2 separate regions of the Homo sapiens genome follow, and region 1 is linked to region 2. Evidence: promoter capture Hi-C in human tissues and cell types (Jung and others, 2019). All regions are on one chromosome and are shown on one strand. Each heading gives the region's core, a stretch centred on a gene start or on the middle of the fragment in contact. The rest is flanking DNA. Distances are from core to core; before and after follow the strand shown.

Region 1 (6,222 bases), core at 3,689-6,188, 1.1 Mb before region 2:
GCCTCTGAAAGCAAAAAATGTAAAATATAGTTGGAAGGATAGAAAACTCTGGTGTGATGTTTTCTGGAAGTTCTGCTGTAATTTCAAACTTGCTATGTCAACAACTGAGCTTACTCTATATCTCAGTGTTAGTGTATTATATGTGTGGCCTAAGACAATTCTTCTTCTTCCACTGTGGCCCAGGGAAGTCAAAAGATTGGACACCCCTGAAACTATAGAGTGCTTCTGGATTGGTCTGATCCAAGAGAAGGTTTGGTTTTAGATCTGGATTTGGAGGACAGCTCATTGTGGGCTCTGGAAACTGAAAACACTAGAACTTCCCTGTGCAAAAAGCCATAGAGGGCCCTGGCATCTCGACACACTGAAGGTGGCCAGGCTCTCAAGGATGGGCTACCCAGTGGCTATGAGGCCAGCTACCTTTCATGTGTGTAGCTTTCTGACACACAGAAGAGCAAGCAAGAGAATGAGAGTGAGAGCAAGGGAGAGAGAGGGGAGACAGAGACAGAGTGAACTTGCAACTGAAAAGACAGAACTAGAGAAGGGATAAGAAAGAAGAGCAGTCAGGCAGCTCAGTATCATGTCAGTAGAAACACCAGATTTGAACTGTAATTACTTTTTTTACCCCAACTCTGTTCATGTTTTACAAACCAGCACTGACACTTGAACAAAGAGCTTTGAAAAAGCAAGCAGGAGCTAGGTATGTAAATAGCCAGTGCTCTGTGTTTACTCACAGCCTTTTCCAAAGAATGGAGAAGACAGAAGTGGCAGCTTCCTAACAAACACACCACAAGGAGTGAGTATATGGTTTTAGCAGTGTATACATTTGCTCAGCATAAGAAGCATTTAGTTGTGAACCCTTGAAATCACAGGGTTCAGGAGGTAAAAACTCAGGGGATTACTTGTAAGTGAGAGGAAAGAAGACAGAAGGTTCACAAAAGGTAGCCAAGAACCTACGGTAGATTCCCTGTTATAACACAGACTCATCACATGGGTCCATTTTGGTCCTTGGGGAATTTCAAGACCAATATGTGCGTGCACTTTGTGTTGCGTGAATGTGTGTGTGTGTAGGTAAAAGCATGTGAGATTTTTCCCTGCATACCTCCACACCTTTTTCAACACCAAAATCAAAATATACTGTATTCTAAATACCCAAGAATGTCTGACACCTAGTAAGGGCTCAATATTTGTTAAGTTGAACAGACTTGAAATGGAGAAGACCATAGCCAAGCTGTATTCAAACACAGTCTTATTCAAAAACCTCTAATCTTGTTTCCCAACCCTGCTTCAGGGCATCCACCTTCCCAACAAAATACATACTCATCCCCAAAGACAAAACTAAAGCTGCGCCCAAAACCATAAATTCATTTTTCTCTTCTGAGTTTGAAGAGAAACTCAGGCTTCCAGTCATTAGATATGGCCAGGTTTACTCTGTGAGTGTTTCTTCCTCTTTCCTCTCATCTCCTTCATCACCTCCTCACTAGTCACCCCACCTTGAGTCACTCATCCTCCAATCCATGCTCCAGAGAGTGGTCAGTTATCTTTAAAATAAGTTGTGATTGTGCCACTTCCCTGCTCTAAAAACCATTATTAGTTCAGCATTATTGATTGGGTGAAATGGGAAGGGATTTGATGAGTGAACCTGAGAACCATATGTGGAAGATGAACAGAGAACAGAAATGCCAGAGGCTGCCAAGACAGTGAGGCCAACATCACAGGATAAGCCCAACTGGGACTGTCTGCTGCTGGGACTGTCCCCACAGGGCCCAGCGGGGCTGCTGTCCCCACCCCTGCCACCATCAGAGAGGATTTCTCCTCCCAGACACTGAGCCTGGCTTCTGTGGCTCACTGAGACTGAGGAAAGTGAGACTAGACTTTGGGGGCCTCAGTCATGGAATGAGGGCCCTGTCTCCCTTTTAGACTCATACGGGTAAACTTCCAAATGCAGAAAGGGGGCTCAACTACTGGGCGGCTTTAAAAAGTCACCAATGCAATCACTTAATCAAATTGTAAATTACGCTTTGTCTGCCTGTCTCTCAGAACATGGTGAGCACAGCAAGGGACATTCACCTCTGTTCCCTCACACTCAACATAGCCCTTGACCAGACTGAGAAGACTGTCTCCTTTTGCCAGGATTCTGTGAGATAGAATACTTCCTGGGGGCTGCTGGAGAACTGCTTGGCCACCCAGAATTGCATAATGGGCTTATTCTTAGGACTTGAACTTAGAACCAGAATTAACCTGCAGAAGTTCCTGTATTTCCCATCTGAGCTTTAAGCTGAACCTGAAAAGCATGACAGCTCAAAAACACTCCAAACAGGTTGGCTTACTCCATCTGGGCTTCTATAACTAAGTACCATAGACTGGGTGGCTTATAAACAATAGAAATTTATTTCTCACAGTACTGCATTCTGGAAGTCTAAGATTATGGTGCCAGCATGGTCAGCTTCTGGTGATAGCCCTCTTCTGTACTGCAGACTTCTTACTTCTCATTGTATCCTGACATGGCAGAAAGAGGGTGAGGGAACTCTCTGGGGTCCTTTTTCTAAGGGCATGGATTTCATTCTAAGGACCTCACCCTTATGATCTAATTACCTCCCAAAGGCTCTATCTCCTAATATCACATTGGCAGTTAGGGCTTCCACATGTGAATTTTGGGGAGACACAAACATTCCATTGCATAGACAGATTGGCACCAAGAAAAAATTATTTCATTTTATACAGCACACATTATCCCCATTTTCAAATGAGGAAATTTTCACATGTGGAAATGGAGAACAGGCCCTTATTCTCCAGGCCAGTGCCACTGCCAGTGTGGCCCCTGGATATCAACATCTCTTGAGCAACTGTTAGAACTGCAGTTTCCGGGTGCAAGCCCGTAGTCGCAGCTACTCAGGAGGCTGAGGCAGGAGGATCGCTTGAGTCTAGGAGTTCTGGACACTTTGGGAGGCCGAGGCGGGTAGATCACTTGAGATCAGGAGTTTGAGACCAGCCTGGCCAGCATGGTCAAACCCCATCTCTACTAAAAATACAAAAATTAGCTGGGTGTGGGGGCGGGTGCCTGTAGTCTCAGCTACTTGAAGGCTGAAGCAGAATTGCTTGAACCCAGAAGGTGGAGGTTGCAGTGAGCTGAGATTGTGCCACTGCACTCCAGCCTGGGTGACAGAGGGAGACTCCATCTCAAAAAAAAATAAAAGGCGGCCGGACGCGGTGGCTCACCCCTGTAATCCCAGCACTTTGGGAGGCCGAGATGGGTGGATCACGAGGTCAGGAGATTGAGACCACCCTTGCTAACATGGTGAAACCCCGTCTCTACTAAAAATACAAAAAATTAGCTGGGCGTGGTAGTGGGCACCTGTAGTCCCAGCTACTCAGAAGGCTGAGGCAGGAGAATGGCGTGAACCCGGGAGGCGGAGCTTGCAGTGAGCCGAGACCACGCTGCTGCACTCCAGCCTGGGTGACAGAATGAGACTCTGTCTCAAAAAATAAAGAAAAGGCCGGGCACAGTGGCTCATGCCTGCAATCCCAGCACTTTGGGAGGCCGAGGCGGGAAGATCACCTGAGATCAGGAGATCGAGACCATCCTGGCTAACACGGTGAAACCCCATCTCTACTAAAAATACAAAAAATTAGCCAGGCGTGGTGGCTGGCGCCTGTAGTCCCAGCTACTCAGGAGGCTGAGGCAGAAGAATGGTGTGAACCTGGGAGGCAGAGCTGGCAGTGAGCCAAGACCGCGCCACTGCACTCCAGCCTGGGTGACAGAATGAGACCCTGTCTCAAAAAAAAAAAAAAAAAAAAAAAACCTGCAAAGTCATATTTCCCACCACAGACCTGCTGAATCAGATTCTCTGGGGAAGAGCACAGCTATCTACCAGTGTTTCTGGTAGAAGCTCTGCCAGTGTTTCTCATGCCCACTAAAGTTTAAGAACCACTACCCTATAGCAGTGTCTCCAGATGTTGTGGTATGTTTTCCCTGGAGGGTGTGACACATTTGCCACATGATGAACTTTAGGAAAAAATATTTAGCTCTTAGATATTCATTTCAATATGCAGTCAGTAAAAAACCTGGCTAACACATTGAACCCAGGATTTCAAAGACATATTGCTTGTAAGATGATGCCAAATCTACTTAAGTCAAACAAGATAATCGGTGTAAAGAAAATCAATACTGTTGTAGGGAGTTATGGTGAAAATAGTGAACCTGATACATAAATTACCAAAGTCTGGGATACCTGGTATACCTCCAGTTCCAGCTATAAACTGGATATCTCAATCTGTTCAGGTGGCTACAACAAAATGCCATAAACTGGGTAGCTTATAAACAACAAAAATTTGTATCTGACAATTCTGGGGGCTTGGAAGTCCAAGATTAAGGTGCTGGAAGATTTGGCATCAGGTGAGGGCTACCTCCTGGTTCATAGATGGTGGCTTCTAGTTCTTCTTCTGTCTTTCCATGGTGGAAGGGGTGAACAAGCTCCCTTGGGCCTATTTTATAAGAGCACTAATCCCAAAGCACTCATGACTTACTAACCTCCCAAAAGGCCCCCCTCCTAATACCATCACATTGGTGATTACGTTTCAACATGTAAATCTGAGGGAGGGACACAGACATTCGGCACTGAAGATCAGAACATGAGCCCCACTTCCAACTGAGCTCCCCTACCAGCATCCACTGCTCTCTCCAAAATCCCCTCTACCCGATACCTCAATTTAACCTCAGAACCTCTGTCCATGGCTTTCAATGCTAAATAAAACTGAGAAGGAGAGGGATGTGTAGTTCTATCTTCTCTGATAGAATAAGATCATGAAAACCCTGAATGAAAGGAATGATGGAGATGGAAACACGATGAAAGTGGAAAAGGGCTCAGGATTGGAAAGCTGCAGGCAACGAAGATGAATTCTGCCATCTTCTCCAGTTATAAGTCCCAGTGTCACTCACCATATTCCTGTGCACTTAGAGGCCAAAGACCTCCACGTTGGCAAGATTAAAATGAGAAGGGGTAGTCAGGGCTGACATCATAATTTTTCTACTACTAATAATAATAATGTTTATTTACTATTATTATTATTCATAATAAAGCCATTTAAACCCCACTCGATAAGAGGTTTAACAAGCCCATTAAGAACAGGAAACCTATTTCCTGCCTGGCGTTGTTTACACATATAACTAGGAGACACTCACTGGCTGGGGGAGCCCCATTAGCTTTAACCAAGAGTCTTGGCAGGAGCTCATGGAAGAAAATAAATCCCTCAAGCAGAATTACATGTGGTCAGTGAGGTCATCGCTCTTGTTTGGCTGGGCTGCACTCTAGGCTGAAGATCCAGAGATGGAGCAGGGCGACCCCACAGCCATGCTGGAGATAGGCACCCTCTTGTCCTTCTCTCATCCAAAGCCAGCTGAGCACAGTTTACTGGCACAGCCAGCTCTGGGGAAAGTTGAGAAGTGGTGAAGCCAGTTTATTATCTACCTTTCTATGTACTCTTGCCCATTAATGGGCAATATTCCCCACTCCCATCTGGCTTTGCATATTTTTCTGCTGCTTCCTGGTTGCTCAGAATCCCCATTCTATGATGGTTCCTTTAGAGCCAAGAGACTTCCAGGCCCATCCTGCAGCCCCTTCAAGACCCAACTTCTTTTGGTCACCTTCCCTTGAGAAAGAATTGTGTCCTGTAACTAAAGCCATCCATCATATTTAAGGGTCATCCATGGTGGAGTCTCCATACATCATGTCTGACCCAGGTAAAGAGGAGCCAGGAGGCTCCTCTCCCAGGGATGTTCCTCTTGAACAGAGAACTCTGAGGATTCAAGCAATCCTTCCCTAATAGATTCCAAAGTCCTGCCCCCACCTGAAACCACTAGGGAAACACTGTGGTGCAAGGGTTTTCTGAATTGTCCTTCCTTCCTCTGGGCCAAATCACACACTAGCCACAGACTGTGGACTTGGTCTGCATTAAGCTGGTCCCTGGTAGAGCTTAGCACTTTCCACACCGAGTAAAGCTTTCTTCCCAGCAGAGGGCAGCAACGGTCAGAGGCTGGAGCCACTGGTGCGCAGCCATCTCAGAGGGACTCGATAAAATGGGAGGAAAGAAACCAGAGGGAGGAGGAAGGAAGGAAGGTGGGGGCTCGGGGCAAGCACGCAGAGCTCGCTGCTCCTTCACCTTCCACCCTGGTAGGGTCTGGCTCTGTGGCCAGGGCTCCCCATAACCTAACGCTTTCTGGTTGGC
Region 2 (6,495 bases), core at 3,178-5,677:
ATGCCAGATGCAATCAACACCCGCACCCCCAAAAGAAATGTCTTTCCTCACCAGGTTACTGGAAACCAACTATGTTATTACAATGTGAGACAAAGAGCTACAGATTTGGTACTAGCATGAGTTATACCATGAGAACTTGGGTCAAAAGCCAGTAGTTCTGCTAGAATACTTGTTTTGAAAATATCAATTTATTTCAGTGCAACTGAAATATTAGGGAACAATTTGATTATAATGAGAAGTTCATGTTTGCTTATATGTGACTCCATCCATGAGAAACACTAGGTGAATACGGAAAGCCTCACCCAGCTACACAGGATACATAAAACACACACATCTCAAACACCTATCTGCCAATGACCTCAGTTTACAGCGTGTGTTGTGAGCCATACCCATCCTCAACGAGTGTAATGTTCCCTCTGATTGTGGATGACTCTCCTTCTACCATTCCATAGTAGTCCTCAAGCTGCAACCCTTCTGATGCCCACCTTTTCCCCCCGCAAGACAGAGTCTTGCTCTGTCGCTCAGGCTGGATTGCAGTGGCATGATCTTGGCTCATTGCAACCTCCACCTCCCAGGTTCAAGCAATTCTTCTGCTTCAGCCTCCCAAGTAGCTGGGATTACAGGTGCGTGCCACTACACACGGCTAATTTTTGTATTTTTTAGTAGAGATGGGGTTTCACCATGTTGGCCAGGTGTGTCTCCAATTCCTGACCTCGTGATCCACCTGCCTCAGTCTCCCAAAGTGCTGAGATTACAGGCGTGAGCCGCCGCGCCTGGCTTTGATGCCCACTTTCACAAATAAACTTCAGGTCTTTTTCATGGTAAAGCACCATATTTATTGTAGTATTCACCTATTTTTTATTTTTTTTGAGATGGAGTCTCACTCTGTTGCCCAGGCTGGAGTGCAACGGTGCGATCCCAGCTCACTGCAACCTCCGCCTCCTGGGTTCAAGCGATTCTCCTGCCTCAGCCTCCCGAGTAGCTGGGACTACAGGCACATGCCACCACGCCGGGCTAATTTTTTGTATTTTTAGTAGAGACGGGGTTTCACTGTGTCAGCCAGGATGGTCTTGATCTCCTGACCTCGTGATCCGCCCACCTTGGCCTCCCAAAGTGCTGGGATTACAGGCGTTAGCCACCACGCCCGGCCTATATTTATCTATTTCTTACCATTTAATGTGCACAAAACTATGCTACCAATTTTTAGTCCCTATATTAAAAAAAAAAAGCGTCGGCCAGACACAGTTCGAGACCAGCCTGGCCAACATGGTGAAACCCATCTCTAATAAAAATACAAAATTAGCCGGGCGTGGTGGCGGGCACCTGTAATCCTACTTGGGAGGCTGAGGCAGGAGAACTGGTTAAACCCGGGAAGTGGAGGTTGCAGTGAGCCAAGATCGTGCCACTGCACTCCAGCCTGGGTGACGAGCAAAACTCTGTCTAAAAAAAAAAAAAGGAGGTCTGAGCAAGATGACACCGAAGATTCCTTCCACACTACTATGCTTCGAGTGTACTTTAAAAACAAATTAACAAAAATCATGGACAGATAGATCTACTTGCACCCTTCTTTATGATATGACTGTTCACTTCGGAAATGTTTATCAAAGCACAAATTTCATGCTTTGCCCCATACACAGACAGTAGCTATCTCATACTCCCTTAGCTTTAGTGCCTTTTTACATTCAGGCTCCCGACAGTCAGGACTGTCCAAAACGGTCATACGCATGACCTCAATTTTTTCCTAATGTCATACACAAGGGACATAAAACTAGAAGATAGATAAAACAGCCCCAAATTACTGTCACACACAAGCTTCATTAGCGCAGTGGTTTAATCTGTTAAGATTCACACTGAAGACAGTGCACAAAGATCAAGACCAAAAAAATCCTCTCCTTCCTCCTTTTAAATCACTCACAAGATACATGTAGCTAGTCTGAAGAAATATCATCGTAGGTGTCCCAACAAAGACCAAGGCCCAAAGATGCAGTGGCCCGGCCACTTCATGGATGGGACTTATGAGACCCAGACACAGGAAATCCATTTAGCATCCCACAATGGCAAAGAAATTCCAGGACTCGATACTGCTTTACATAGGACTCCAAAGCAGCAACATCTGCCTTCTCCCTTCAAGGTCTGTAACTCCTCAAAACTGTTCTCTCCAGCTACTTAACAGGTTAAACAAAACACAGTTAATCTCTCTGACAGCCCAGCTTAGACTTACCTGTCCAGTTTAGTTTGACGCTCCATTCATAAAAGAAGATAAGTTTCCCTTTGCGATTGTTAATGGATGCCTCTCCATCAAGCTTACTCACTTCCGTCACCTCACACTTGCCTTCTTCATTTTGAACCTGCACTGCCAGGAACAGTGTTTTCAGCTTATCCGTGGACCAATTTGAAGCATCTCTCTCCGTCCTGCAAAGCAGAAACAGAGCTATGAACCAGCAGTCAAACGGAGGATACGCTGCTCTATGCAAGAGAATACGAGGTTAAAGGAGGCCTGACAAATAGTTTGAAAAGAACACAAAAACTCCCAGTCGCACTCCAGTATGTCCACAAACATGTCATTCTTTTTTAGGAAGACAAGGGGTTGCACACTGTCAACAAAGACAGCTGCTGTAGAAAATGGTATAAACTCAATGGAAAATTATGCTCTCCTTTCTCGGCATGATGGTGCGGGGGAATACTTGATACTTTAACATGGCGCCCCCATTTGACCAAGTGGAAAACTGCACATATTGCTGAGATCAGGAACACAGACTGGACCATGAAAGAATAGTACTTAGCTAAAAGGCCCAGAAAGGATTAAACCAATAACCCTGACCTCATTGGCACGGTGTTCTGACCTATCAGATTCGCACTTGCATTATAAACTTCCTACACATTCACTGTCCCCTAGATGGCCACAAAAACGTTAAGTCCAGGGCTTCAAAACAAACAACAAAAATTAGGTCAAGTACTCTGCATGTTAAGAAGAGAGAATACAAAGTGAGATATGGAAAAGAAACATCACTATCTGCCTTCCTACTTATCAACTATTAGAGAAAACAACAGCAAAAAAGGCTGCAACAAAGTAACGGTACAATACAAACATTACGAAAAAAGTTCAGTGGAATTCAAAAATAAGGAAACTAATATTACTTTGGGAAGATTTCATGAAGGAGGGCAGTTATTTTAAGAACGGTCAGGTTATAAAACCACGGCTGCTCGGCAACCTGGAGTTCCAACACACCCGACCTGATAGTTCCGGGTGAGAGGCCGCAGCTATCTGAGCTCTGAGCACCTGCACAACACGTTCTCAATCTCCCGCGGGACCGCTGCAGCGGTCCCCTATGAATGACTTTTAATTTTACCGCAGGCCGCAAAATAGGAATTACAGACCCCTGGCCTTAGGCCTTTCACAGCTATCTCCCAACACAATCAAAGGAGGTTCCAGTCTCAGTGACTCCTCTGGCCACGTGTAATAAGCACCTCCCTGCTCGGGCTGGATGCAGCAGCCAGGGCGTTATCTCCTAGTCTCTCTGACAACCCTCCTCTGGGGCGCAGCCCTCCACGTCCATCTCCCTCCCCTCAAACACTGAGAAGGTGACCGCGGAGTGGAGAGGCCTGGGGCTACGGACCCCTGCCACAGGAAGGACCCACCCCCATCTCCGGACAGGGCTACCTCAGCCCCAGCTCTGTCCGGGCCGAGGTTCTAGGAACCCTGAAACCCTGGCCCGGCCGCAGGTCTCCCAAGGCCGGCCTGCTTTTCTGGCCCTCACCAGTGCCAGTTGTTGACGTTGGTGGCGTCCGCCCGCTCCTCCACGATCCAGCGTGGGTCTCCCTCACCCCACTTGGCCATCGGCTCTCCTATCGCGGCGCCACCAGCTCCGGAGCAGCCGTAGCCACAGCCTCAGGACCGCTTAGTGCCAGCCGCCCGGCAGCGCCTGGAAACTACTAGAAGCGGCCGCAAGCACCTCCTGGCTTGCTTTTCCCTCCACCCCCTCCCCTCCTTAACTTCCGGCTCCTCCCCACTCCCACCGGTTACTTCCGTCCCAACTCGCCGCACCGTGGGTTCCGCCTGATTTAGAGATCCTTCAGACTCCATCGGGTTCTCCCCAAAAAGCGTCCCGAAACCCAACTGCTCATACAACCATTCCTCACCCATAGGAAAACAAAGAACACGTCTCATTGCTTCCCTGGACCCTAAATCGCCCTTGCTGAGCCTCATGGGAATTGTAGTCTTGCTACGTGACTCGCTGGATAACCGCGGAAGGTCTCGCGGAAAGGAGAGGAAATGACCTAGCACGGTGCTTGGGGTTTCTGGGGGCTGTAGTCAAGAAGCCTTGTGGTTCGTCGGGACAGCGCCTGACAGCAGAGGCAGAAGAAACTACGACTTCCAGCATGCCCTGCGGTCTCGTTATTCGTGTTTTCTCTCCGCCCTACGATTATTCCCTTCCGCCCCCTTCTCTAAGCTGCACAGCCTGAATAGAAGGGCTGGTCCAGCGGCGGCGGAGGCTGGCGCTGTCCTGAGAGGGAGGGCTCTGTGCGGAAGAGGTGAGGGTGTCCCAAGCCCCTTGGGTCGCGTATCTGGCTGGATCCAGCCTCTCCGCATCTTGATCTTTTCCCCTCTTCTAGGAGGCATCCCTACACCCTATGACTACAGGCCTGATTCTCTTCTTTCAGTCAGGGCGACCCTTGGGCGCTGGAGTACGCTTGGGACTGGGGCTGCGAGTGAGCACCAGCGATTGGTTCGGAAGCGGACATTTGGTTCAGAACGAGCATTTAACTCTGCCAGGGATCCGCTGGGCTCTGACGACTGCGGTAGATCCATGGCTTCCTGGACGTTCACCCGTAGAGTCATCCTAGCTTAACTCTTGTTCCCTGGTCTCAGTTCACAAGCCTCACCTGTATCTTCCTGGCTCGGAAGATAATTGAAACCAAGTCTGACTTCTCAGTAGGTGGTTTTTGGAGTTTTCTGAGGCAGGGAGCATGTTGTGGTTTTCTTGCTGATTCTTCTGTTTTCCTTTGTAAAGTTCCTGTTCTCCCCTGAGGTCTCTCACCCTGCCTTGTGGGCTGTCAGTAAACAAGAGACGATAAAGACAAACCTCTGAAGTATTTTAAATCATGTTGAAGCACCTGTCACTCTTAAGAGTGACAATCGTACCTGATTACTTTATAACTCTAGAGCCACTAGATCATTATCTATACTTGCCAAGTAAACCTAGCTTCTCATTTGGCGTTATAAATACAAATTGATGGCAGTTGTCTACTGCCATTGCATGGTTAAAAAGATTCCAGAAATCCTCTGGTAGATTATTGTGTTTGTTAGACACATTCTATGTCTATCTGTAGATAATTACTATAGTGAAGGAATGATCTCTAGTTTTCTGGAAAGTGAAAAATAGGTAGAAGGACCATGCAAGACACTAGAAATGGTCTAGGAGCCAGAAAGCCTGGATTGTAATTTGAAATAGGAGCATTTAACAAAGTGGCTTTGATACTGAACTCTTTTGTGCCTCACTTTCCCCATGAGTAACATGGAAATGGAATCTCCCAGGCCTACCTTACAAGATTGTTCTGAGGATCAAACGAATGACAGAGTGATTTATGAACTGACATGTGTGCCAGAGACATTTATATGTTCTATACACATCTTCAGCATTTGTGGCTACTCAGAATTTTTGTATTTTTTTTAATCTTTAGGATTGCTAAAAAATATTTTCTTTTTTAGCTTTTCCCAAGGTACCAGGATGATGTATTAATAATAAAAGTTACTATTGAGTGTTAATTTTGGGTCAGGCACTAAGCACTTTACATGTATTAACTGGTTTACTCCTCAGAACCATTTCTAAGGTAGGTCATCTGTTATGCCCATTTAACAGACGGGAAAACCAAGACAGAAAAATGTCAGTATGATATTCCATATTAAAAGGAAATAACATTTAGTATTTACTTTCTGCTAGACACTTTTATAGATGTTCCCTGCAACCCTGTGAGATAGGATATAATTTTCTCCAAGGCTTAGAAGTAAAGTCATTTATCCACTTTGCTCAGAATTAAGAGAAACCAGGATTTGAACTCAAGGTTGCCTGACTACAATGTCTGTGTGGGATGATTTCATGGTGTCTGCCAGCATTTTTGGTTTATCTCCCTAAAATTAAATACAGAAAAGGATTTTTAAACAACCCTGTACCAGTAGAAATCAATTAGTGATGTCTGCCGTGAGAAGGGACCAGATAGTAGAAAATCCCCACAATACCCTTGCTATCCCTATATCCCCTGAGTTGAAAACAAAGTCAGGAAGTAACAGTAGAGTATCTTTAAGGGCTATCAAAAGCCTCAACAGGACTACCATGACAAGGCTTTTCTCAAGCTTTTATTGATGAAGGTGCTATTAAAAGGAAAAGCAAATGGTTCTTTTAGAACTTGATGCTGTTTAGCCTTTACAGTTATTTTTGGTGCTGTGGGAGTTTTATACCCAGTCCTTGGCTTAAATCATAGTTTTCATTCTAATCC

The links. Contacts are between HindIII fragments. The study calls those that stand out against the background at their distance.
Region 1: a fragment that was not itself captured here is called in contact with the fragment with the promoter of VIPAS39 in region 2 in 1 of the 25 tissues and cell types used here (lymphoblastoid cells).

The regions. Positions count from the first base shown.
Region 1 is chr14:78,566,539-78,572,760 of GRCh38, reverse strand. The region is part of intron 4 of NRXN3 (neurexin 3); the gene reads right to left. Among named protein-coding and RNA genes, the nearest start is that of NRXN3-AS2, 140 kb to the left of the region's middle. The HindIII fragment of the contact is 7,746 bases long and covers 1,066-6,222 here.
Region 2 is chr14:77,455,533-77,462,027 of GRCh38, reverse strand. VIPAS39 (VPS33B interacting protein, apical-basolateral polarity regulator, spe-39 homolog) reads left to right here and starts at 4,427. Exons shown (of 20, transcript NM_001193315.2): 1 at 4,427-4,533. AHSA1 (activator of HSP90 ATPase activity 1) reads right to left here and starts at 3,935. Exons shown (of 9, transcript NM_012111.3): 1 at 3,759-3,935; 2 at 2,222-2,412. The coding sequence starts at 3,838. RefSeq lists enhancers at 3,679-3,858, 3,584-4,106, 4,029-4,488, 4,107-4,629. The HindIII fragment of the contact is 5,050 bases long and covers 2,059-6,495 here.